Linked DNA regions of Homo sapiens: region 2 is linked to region 1. Evidence: promoter capture Hi-C in 16 types of primary human blood cells and fetal thymus (Javierre and others, 2016). All regions are on one chromosome and are shown on one strand. Each heading gives the region's core, a stretch centred on a gene start or on the middle of the fragment in contact. The rest is flanking DNA. Distances are from core to core; before and after follow the strand shown. Region 1 holds the start of RCE1 (Ras converting CAAX endopeptidase 1). Region 2 has its middle 12 kb from the start of SLC29A2.

Region 1 (4,819 bases), core at 1,498-3,997:
CAGGGAAGGCCTCTTAATTACCAAATTTTGCATTTACCTTCATTGTATCTGAACTATGTGCAAAATTTGGCACTGTAAGGCTATGACTCGCCTGGTTTTTCCCTCCCTGGGCTTTTCTCTTCATCTACTTTCCTCTGGTCATGCCTAAATAGTGCTCATCCTGCTCTCCCACCCAGCTATCTTCCATCCCAACTGTTGACCACTGCCTCTGGGCTCAAGACTCTCAAATTGGTATGACCAGCCAAGGCCTCTGCTGAGTGCCAGCTGGGAGATTCATTTGCTCACTAGGCAGCTCCTCGTGGAGGTCCCATTGGTACCTCAGTTTCCTCTCTCCTGACTAAAGAGACTTTTAGTCTGTTTCATGATTAATCCAATTTATCACATCTGAAATCTTGGATTCATTCAAGAGGCCTCTCATTTTTTTTTTTTTTTTTTTTTTTTGAGACAGAGTCTCCCTCTGTTGCCCAGACTGGAGTGCAGTGGCGTGATCTCGGCTCACTGCAACCTCCCTGCCTCCCAAGTTCAAGTGATTCTCTTGCCTCAGCCTCTGAGTAGTTGGGATTACAGGCGCCCACCACCATGCCCAGCTAATTTTTGTATTTTTAGTAGAGACGGGGTTTCACCATGTTGGCCAAGCTGGTCTCAATCTCCTGACCTCGTGATCTGCCCGCCTCGGCCCCCCAAAGTGCTGGGATTACAGGCATGAGCCACCGCGCCCGGCCAAGAGGCCTCTCCCACATCCAGGCGCTCACAAAGGCCTATCACTTAGGCCTGATGAACACTTCTGATTCCTGGTGACGCCTCTATCTCCACTGTCTTTACTTGTTATTGGGCTCTTAAGGTCTTCCTGTCTCTAGTTTGATCTAAGCCACACCTTTGAAAGAACGATCTTTCTGAAGTACAAAATTACCAATATATTTCACCAGTGCTTAAAACTCTTTATTGGCTTCCTGTCTTCTACAGATGAAAATCTGTTTCTAGCCAGGCAAGGTGGTGTGTGCCTTTAGTCCCAGTTACTCGAGAGGATGAGGCCGGGAGTTCAAAGCTGCAGTGAGCTACAATCACGCCACTGCACTCCAGCCTAGGTGACAGGCGAGACCTCATCTTTAAAAAGTAAAAATTTACATAGGAAGTTGTTTTATGCCTTTGCATAAGGTTTGTGTTAACTTTCAGCAAGAAATTCCCTTTCTCTCCCTTGTCTGGCATATCACTCTTCATCCTTCAAAACCCAGCTCTGGGGCAGGAGTGGTGACTTATGCCTGTAATACCGTCACTTTGGGGAGCTGGGGCGGGAGGACAGCTTGAGACTAGCCTGGGCAACACGGTGAGACCCCTGTCTCTACAAGTAAAAAAAATTAGCCGGTGTGGTGGCATGCGCCTGTGGTTCCTGGTACTCTGGAAGCTGAAGCTGAGGCAGTAGGATCGCTTGAGCCCAGGAGGTCGAGGCTGCAGTGAGCCAGGACTGAGCCACTGCACTCCAGCCTGGGCAACAGAGCAAGACCTTGTCTCAAAAAAACAAAAGGTCAGCTCAGGTATCTCCTCATGGAAACCCTTCTTCACATCCAGAGGTGGTCGGCTTCCTTCTCTATTCTAACCCTGGGCTTTGTACACAGGTCTGCATCCCCTCCTAGCATCTGTGAGCTTCTCTCAGGGAAAAGCTCATTGATCTGCATCCCCAAGACCTGCTGGGGAAGAATCTATCCATCTAAACTCGCTTTAATTTGACAAATGAATCAGTTAAGAGTAGGAAAGCTGCCTATGGGCACTGCTCAATGCAACGTGAGCAACAAAGGGAGACAGAACTGAGGCCAGAAAGGTGAGGGGGGACAGAGGCTGGCAGGGAGGGGAGCTTGTCAGTGCAGACTCCAGGAAGAATCTATACAGAAAGTTACTGAGCGGCCTGAGTCCCCCAAGTGAGGGCTCGGGACAATCTCCCGCCTGGGTGAGAGAATAGGGAGACCCTGAAACGTCTCTGCAGCCTCGGGCTGCTCCAGAAGCGCCCACAGCTGCAGGGTTTTGGTGTGGATGGGACCTGCTGACAGGGATGCGGTGGGAAGAGCCCCTCGGCGCCCGTTCTCCCAGGCTTCCCCTTGGCCAAGGGTGCTCCTAGCACAGGGCCATGAAAGTAAGATGAAGAGGCTTGTTTTTCTCCTAGATACCAGCGGGCAAGCAGAAAACAAGAGGCTCAAGAGGGGCAGCCCCCGCATAGAGGAGATGCGAGCTCTGCGCTCTGCCAGGGCCCCGAGCCCGTCAGAGGCCGCCCCGCGCCGCCCGGAAGCCACCGCGGCCCCCCTCACTCCTAGAGGAAGGGAGCACCGCGAGGCTCACGGCAGGGCCCTGGCGCCGGGCAGGGCGAGCCTCGGAAGCCGCCTGGAGGTAACTGGGCGAGGGCCGCGCAGGGAAGGGCTCAGCAGGAGGTGCAGGCCACGGGCCGCTGCTGAGAGGTCCTCACCCCGGGCCCCCTTGTTCCCGCAGGACGTGCTGTGGCTGCAGGAGGTCTCCAACCTGTCAGAGTGGCTGAGTCCCAGCCCTGGGCCCTGAGCCGGGTCCCCTTCCGCAAGCGCCCACCGATCCGGAGGCTGCGGGCAGCCGTTATCCCGTGGTTTAATAAAGCTGCCGCGCGCTCACCAAGTCCTCTTCCGCGTCTGCTTCCGCGTCGGGCCCGGGCGGGGCGGGGCGGGGCGTGGAGCCGCGCCGCGGCCTGACGTCACCCACACCTCCCTGGGACTGCGTCACTGGTGCGCGCCGCGGGTCAGGGCGCAATGGCGGCGCTGGGCGGGGATGGGCTGCGACTGCTGTCGGTGTCGCGGCCGGAGCGGCCGCCCGAGTCGGCGGCGCTGGGCGGCCTGGGCCCCGGGCTGTGCTGCTGGGTGTCAGTGTTCTCCTGCCTCAGCCTCGCCTGCTCCTACGTGGGCAGCCTCTACGTCTGGAAGAGCGAACTGCCCAGGTGCGGGGGCTGCGCGCGACCGGAATCCGCGCCCTGCGGGCGGAGCTTGGGCGAGCCGGGGGCGGGTCCGTGCTCATGGGCAGCCGCGGGCCCCCTGAACTTACTGTCCCCTCCGTAGGGACCATCCCGCGGTCATCAAGCGACGCTTCACCAGCGTCCTGGTGGTGTCCAGTCTCTCACCCCTGTGCGTGCTGCTCTGGAGGGAACTCACAGGCATCCAGGTGCGAAGGAGGCGGGGCAAAGGGCAACGGCGGTGAGAGCTCAGGGGTCTTTAGGGGAGGAAGCAAAACTGATGCCCCCTTTCCTGTGGCTCAGCCAGGCACATCCCTGCTCACCCTGATGGGCTTCAGGCTGGAGGGCATTTTCCCAGCGGCGCTGCTGCCCCTGTTGCTGACCATGGTGAGTGCTCCTGCTGTATTTTTTCTTCTGGTCTTTGTTATCAGCCTGATGGGCAGTGCCGTGGACTCTTGTTTTTGGTTTTTGGTTGATGGGAGACAGGACTTTTGAGATGGCCCCAGGGTCCTCCGGTATGCATGGTCTGGAAATCGTGGCTGGAGAGGATTTCAAGCTTGGAGTCTCAGGGAGCATGGGCAAAGGTCTGGGCAAAAGCGGTGGGTTATGGTGAAAGTGTTTTCTTGCCCTCAGATTCTTTTCCTGGGCCCACTGATGCAGCTCTCTATGGATTGCCCTTGTGACCTGGCAGATGGGCTGAAGGTTGTCCTGGGTGAGTCTTAAAGGCTGAAGGGAAAAGTAGGCACAGGCAGTCCAGGACATTGGGGCAGGGAGTCAGCGGGCTCAGGGTGTGATCTGGACACGTGAAATGTCATCTCTCTGGGTGTGTTTTCTCATCAGTAAAATGGAAACATAGAGCTAGGTGGCCTCTAAGGGTTGATTGCCAACGTCCAAGGAGTTCCCTGGGAACCCCCAGCAGTATTTGGTGTGGATCAGAGAGCACTGTCCCCTGCTTCCCCAACCAGAGCTAGTCTTGCTTAAATTTTGGTGTCTCCAGAGTTTACTTCCAGGATGCCCTTGCCTCAGCTAATGCCTTCCATTCAGGTCATCTCAAGACATTGGGTTTATGTTGGGTCCACACCCCCGTCCTCAGCAGTATTGATGCCTAACCTGAGTTTGGCCAGGGTAAAGTTGTGGGAGAGGAGCCCTTGGAGCCTCTGGGGTCTCACTGTCTGACAGCCCGTCACTCACAGCTTGTCCTGAATTCCCTCTGCAGCCCCCCGCTCCTGGGCCCGCTGCCTCACAGACATGCGTTGGCTGCGGAACCAAGTGATCGCCCCGCTGACAGAGGAGCTGGTGTTCCGGGCCTGTATGCTGCCCATGTTAGCACCGTGCATGGGCCTGGGCCCTGCTGTGTTCACCTGCCCGCTCTTTTTTGGAGTTGGTGAGTCTGGCCAGATTAGTCCTGGTGTGTTTTCAGCATGAGAGCTCAGAAGGGGGCTTGAGGTGAGGGGCAGTCCTAGAAGGGAGGCTGGGAGGAATGACTGTGATGTGATTGTCACCTTTTTCCCAGCCCATTTTCACCATATTATTGAGCAGCTGCGTTTCCGCCAGAGCAGCGTGGGGAACATCTTCTTGTCTGCTGGTGAGTCCTGGCTAGCTGGCCTGGGTTAGGGTGTATGATGATGTCGCTAATGGCCACTCTGGAGAAGGAATTGGGAACTGAGGGCCACAGTATTGGAGAGGCCACTGACCGTGGGAAGTTGGGGTGCAGGACAGCTGTAGGTGGTGGGGCAGGCAGCTACTGCCCCGGGGGGAGGGGATGGTCGGTCTTTGGCTGATGGGTATGTAGTGTGGGGGCAGGAAGGGCGTGCAGGTGTGGTCACTCGTGGCCTCCCCGTCTCCAGCGTTCCAGTTCTC
Region 2 (5,141 bases), core at 1,263-3,762, 460 kb before region 1:
GTCAGGCTGGTCTCAAACTCCCGACCTCAGGTGATCTGCCCACCTCGGCCTCCCAAAGTACTGGGATTACAGGCGTGAGCCACCGTGCCTGGCCTTCTCCGGCATTTTAGTTGCACTATACCGGGAGCAGTTTCTCTGAATCATATTGCCTGACTCCTTAAACTTGTTTTTGTTTAATAACGTTGTTCATTGTATAGCTAAACCATAATGTTTTAAAGTAGTCCCCTATTGGCTGGGTGTAGTGGCTCACGCCTGTAATTCCAGTACTTTGGGAGGCCAAGATGGGAGGATCTCTTGAGACCAGGAGTTCGAGACCAGTCTGGTCAACATAGTGTGACCTCATCTCTTAAAAAAAAGAAAAAATGGCCGGGCGCGGTGGCTCATGCCTGTAATCCCAGCACTTTGGGAGGTCGAGGCGGGCGGATCACGAGGTCAGGAGATCGAGACCATCCTGGCTAACATGGTGAAATCCCGTCTCTACTAAAAATACAAAAAAAATTAGCAGGGCGTGGTGACTGGGGCCTGTAGTCCCAGCTACTTGGGCGGCTGAGGCAGGAGAATGGCGGGAACCCAGGAGGCGGAGCTTGCAGTGAGCCGAGATCACGCCACTGCACTCCAGCCTGGGTGACAGAGCGAGACTACGTCTTAAAAAAAGAAAAGAAAAAAAAAAGAAAAGAAAAGAAAAAAGAAAAAAGGCTGAGAGGCTGAGGCAGGAGAATCGCTTGAACCCGGGAGGTGGAGACTGCAGTGACTCGAGATTGCGCCACTGCACTCCAGCCTGGGCAACAAGAGCGAGACTCCATCTCAAAAAAAAAAAAAAAAAAGTAGTCCCCTATCGATGGACATTTACGTTAGATTGTTTCCAATCTAGAAAAAAGTACAAAAAGAAAAAAAAGCATAAAATAAACAAGAAACAAAAACAAACACAAAAATAAAATAGATGATTTCCATTCATCTGTTATTATAAATAATGGTGCAATGAATAACATTTGGGAGTTTATCTGTAGGTGAAATTCCTAGAAGTGGAAATGCTTTCGAGGATATATACAGCTAAATTTTTTTTACACCTGTAATTTTAATAGATGCTGCTAAATTGCTCTCCACAGAGATTGCACCAGTTCACAGTTCCACCAGCTATATATGTTGGTGCCTGTTATCCAGCCAGCAGGATGTTGTTAAATGTTTTGTTCTTTTTTTTTTTTTTTTTGAGACAGAGTTTTGCTCTTGTTGCCCAGGCTGGAGTGCAATGGCGCGATCTTGGCTCACTACAACCTCTGCCTCCCGGGTTCAAGCAACTCTGCCTCCCGGGTTCAAGCAACTCTGCCTCAGCCTCCTGAATAGCTGGAATTACAGGCATGCGCCACCACGCCTGGCTAATTTTTTTTTTTTTGTATTTTTCGTAGAGACGGGGTTTCTCAATGTTGGTCAGGCTGGTCTTGAACTCCCAACCTCAGGTAATCCGCCCACCTCAGCCTCTCAAAGTGCTGAGATTATAGGTGTCAGCCACTGCACCTAGCACTTTTTTTTTTTTTTTTTTTTTTTTTTGAGACAGAGTTTCATTCTTGTTGCCCAGGCTGGAATGCAATGGGCGATCTTGGCTCACTGAAACTTCTGCCTCCTGGGTTCAAGCGATTCTCCTGCCTCAGCCTCTCGAGTAGCTGGGATTACAGCAGCGCGCCACCACGCCTGGCTAATTTTTTGTAGTTTTGGTAGAGATGGGGTTTCACCAAGTTGGTGAGGCTGGTCTCGAACTCCTGACCTCAGGCGATCTGCCCTCCTCGGCCTCCCAAAGTACTGGGATTATAGGCGTGAGCCACCGTGCCCAGCCTAAATGTTTTGTTCTTAACCAAACTGTAGGTGGAAACTGGTATCAGTATAGTTTCAATTGGCATTAACCTTTTGCTGTGGGTTAGCAACTTTTAATAGTTAAATCATATAAAGTTGTCAGTTTTATAAGTCAAAAGTCAATATTGGCAACTTTATATATGGTTCAAGCTAATCTATTTAAAAGCCTCTTTTTCTGAGAACTGTTTCTGTTATTTGTCCATTTTTCTACTGGGTTGTTGCTCTTTTTGTTGCTTCTTAATAGTGAATGGCAAGAGGTCTTTTTTTTTTTTTTTTTTTTTTGAGACGGAGTCCCGCTCTGTCGCCCAGGCTGGAGAGCGCAGTGGCGCAATCTCTGCTCACTGCAAGCTCCGCCTCCCGGGTTCATGCCATTCTCCTGCCTCAGCCTCCCAAGTAGCTGGGACTACAGGCGCCTGCCACCACGCCCAGCTAATTTTTTGTATTTTTAGTAAAGACGGGGTTTCACAGAGTTAGCCAGGATGGCATCGATCTCCTGACCTCATGATCCACCCACCTTGGCCTCCCAAAGTGCTGGGATTACAGGCATGAGCCACCGCACCCGGCCGGCAAGAGGTGGCCTCCCAAAGTACTGGGATTACAGGCGTGAGCCAACCGCACCCGGCCGGCAAGAGGTCTTTATTTTGGGAAAATTAAACGTTTGTGTGTCATACGAGTTGTGAATTTTTTCTTAGTTTGTCACTTGACTTTGCTGATGGTGGTTTTTCTCTGCGGATTCTTTTTGTTTTTGTTTTTGTTTTGAGATGGGGTCTCACTTTGTCACCCAGGCTGGAGTGCAGTGGCATGATCTCGGCTCACTGCAACCTCCACCTCCCAGGCTCAAGCCATCTTCCCACCTCAGCCTCCTGAGTAGCTGGGACTACAGATGCACGCCACCATGCCCGGCTAATTTTTTGTATTTTTGGTAGAGACAGGGTTTCACCATGTTGCCTGGGCTGTTCTCAAACTCCTGAGCTCAAGCAATCCGCCCGCCTTGGCCTCTCAAAGTGCTGGGATTACAGGCATAAGCCACTGCACCTGGCCTATGCAGATATTCTTGATGTCGACTTTGGTCACCTGGTTAAGTCACGTTTGCCAAGTTTATCTAGTATAAAGTTACTATTTGTCAGCCGGGCACGGTGGCTCACGCCTGTAATCCTAGCTTGGGAGGGAGACAGAGGCGGGCGGATCATGAGGTCAAGAGATCGAGACCATTCTGGCCAACACGGTGAAACCCCCGTCTCTACTAAAAATACAAAACTTAGCTAGGCATGGTGGCACACCCCTGTAGTCCCAGCTACTTGGGAGGCTGAGCCAGGAGAATCGCTTGAAACTGGGAGCCAGAGAGCTGAGATCATGCCACTGCACTCCATCCTGGGAGACAGAGCAAGACTCCGTCTCAAAAAAAAAAAAGTTATTATTTGTCCTTTCCATACCCTATTCTTTGGAGGCTAGTTGCTAAGTCCAGCCTACAGTTACAGGAGGATGGTACTAAGCTCTACCTCTTGGATTAAGGAGTATCTCTATATATTACATATTATTTGAAATTCTTCTGTAAGGATGATTTGTCTCTTCTCCCCTATTTGCTTATTTATTCAATTATTTTATATCAGTATGATCAGTATAGACTCATGTGGATATATTTCATACTTTGACTTATAATTCAATACCATGCTATTTACTTTGTTGCTCAAATTGTTCCAGCATTGGCTGCTGGAATTTCTTTCAAGTTGGCTTCCATGGCCCTGTGACATGTGACAGGCTTTTTTTTTTTTTTTTTTGAGACAGAGTCTTGCTCTGTCGCCCAAGCTGGAGTGCAGTGGCACGATCTCGGCTCACTGCAAGCTCCGCCTCCCGGGTTCACACCATTCTCCTGCCTCGGCCTCCTGAGTAGCTGGGACTACTGGCGCCTGCCACAACGCCCGGCTAATTTTTTTTTCGTATTTTCAGTAGAGGCGAGGTTTCACCGTGTTAGCCAGGATGGTCTCGATCTCCTGACATGGCGATCTGCCCGCCTTGGCCTCCCAAAGTGCTGGGATTACAGGCATGAGCCACCGCGCCTGGCCTTTTTTTTTTTTTTTTTTTTTTTTAATAATCAGAATCTCATTCTGTTGCCAGGCTGGAGTGCAGGGGTGTGATTATACCTCATGGCAGCCTTGAACTCTTGGGCTCAAGCAATCCTCCCACCTCAGCCTCCTGAGAAACTGGGACTATAGGTATGTATCACCATGTCCAGCTAATGTAATTTTTTTTTTTTTTTTTTGAGATGGAGTCCCTCTCTGTTGCCCAGGCTGGAGTGCAGTGGCGCCATCTGGGCTCACTGCAACCTCCGCCTCCCAGGTTCAAGCTATTCTTCTGCCTCAGCCTCCCGAGTAACTGGGATTACAGGCAAGAGCCACCATGCCTGGCTAATTTTTGTATTTTTAGTAGAGATGGGGTTTCACCATGTTGGCCAGGCTGGTCACCAACTCCTGACCTCAGGTGATCCACCTGCCTTGGCCTCCCAAAGTGCTGGGATTACAGTCGTGAGCCACCGCTCCTGGCCAAGACCATGTTTCTTAAAAAACAAACAAACAACAACAACAAAACAAATATCTATATCTATATCTATATATCTATATATATAGATATAGATATATATACACACACACACATAAGCAGAGGGACAGGAACCAAGAACATCACACGATTTCACATCCTAGGGTCCTCCAGAGCTCAGATTATAGATGGATGGCCGGGAGGGGGTGTCTACCACTCTAATTTGTTAATCACCAGAGAATCGCTTGAACCCGGGAGACGGAGGTTGCACTGAGCTAAGATTGCGCCATTACACTCCAGCTTGGGCAACAGAGCGAGACTACATCTCAAAGAAAAACAAAAACAGCTTGGCTAAAAAGACCAGCTCGGCCTTGCCAGGAGTGTCCACAAGGGGGCAGTCGAACATTTGCTTACGAGTTCCCCAAGGGCGAAAGATCGGTTTTTAACCTCATTCAGGAACGGAAGATGGAATCTCGGGCTTTGACGGTCGATAAATTAGAAATAAGATCCTTGCACAAAGCCAGAACCCTTGAAGGGCTGCAATCACTTTGTAAGGAAGACCAGTAAACTTCCCACTGGCCAGGGAGGCAACCGGGAAGCTCATCTCAGCTGTTGCCTTGGCTGGGAATAAAACAAGGTTTCCTAATCTCCAGGCGGGCAAGGAGCCTAAATCAGTCTATTCCGTGGGAAATTCAAGCTGATACATTATCATAAAAATTAATCCCAGGCTGTTTCTATATCATGGTCTGAGTTTTTGTCCT

Evidence for each region. The method cuts DNA at HindIII sites, captures the fragments that hold promoters and counts their contacts. A CHiCAGO score of 5 or more calls a contact.
Region 2: a fragment that was not itself captured here is called in contact with the fragment with the promoter of RCE1 in region 1 in 1 of 17 cell types (erythroblasts); the score reaches 5.1 in erythroblasts.

Annotation. Positions count from the first base shown.
Region 1 is chr11:66,840,694-66,845,512 of GRCh38, forward strand. RCE1 (Ras converting CAAX endopeptidase 1) reads left to right here and starts at 2,748. Exons shown (of 8, transcript NM_005133.3): 1 at 2,748-2,947; 2 at 3,066-3,168; 3 at 3,263-3,346; 4 at 3,593-3,671; 5 at 4,176-4,343; 6 at 4,473-4,544; 7 at 4,807-4,819. The coding sequence starts at 2,763. It overlaps TOP6BL (TOP6B like initiator of meiotic double strand breaks), which reads left to right. Exons shown (of 15, transcript NM_001302084.2): 14 at 2,156-2,376; 15 at 2,476-2,823. The coding sequence ends at 2,541. RefSeq lists silencers at 945-1,071, 2,289-2,428, 2,539-2,978 and an enhancer at 2,619-3,325. The HindIII fragment of the contact is 21,944 bases long and covers 1-3,513 here.
Region 2 is chr11:66,381,580-66,386,720 of GRCh38, forward strand. No RefSeq gene overlaps it. Among named protein-coding and RNA genes, the nearest start is that of SLC29A2, 12 kb to the left of the region's middle. RefSeq lists enhancers at 974-1,474, 1,475-1,975, 4,599-4,893. The HindIII fragment of the contact is 6,213 bases long and covers 1-5,141 here.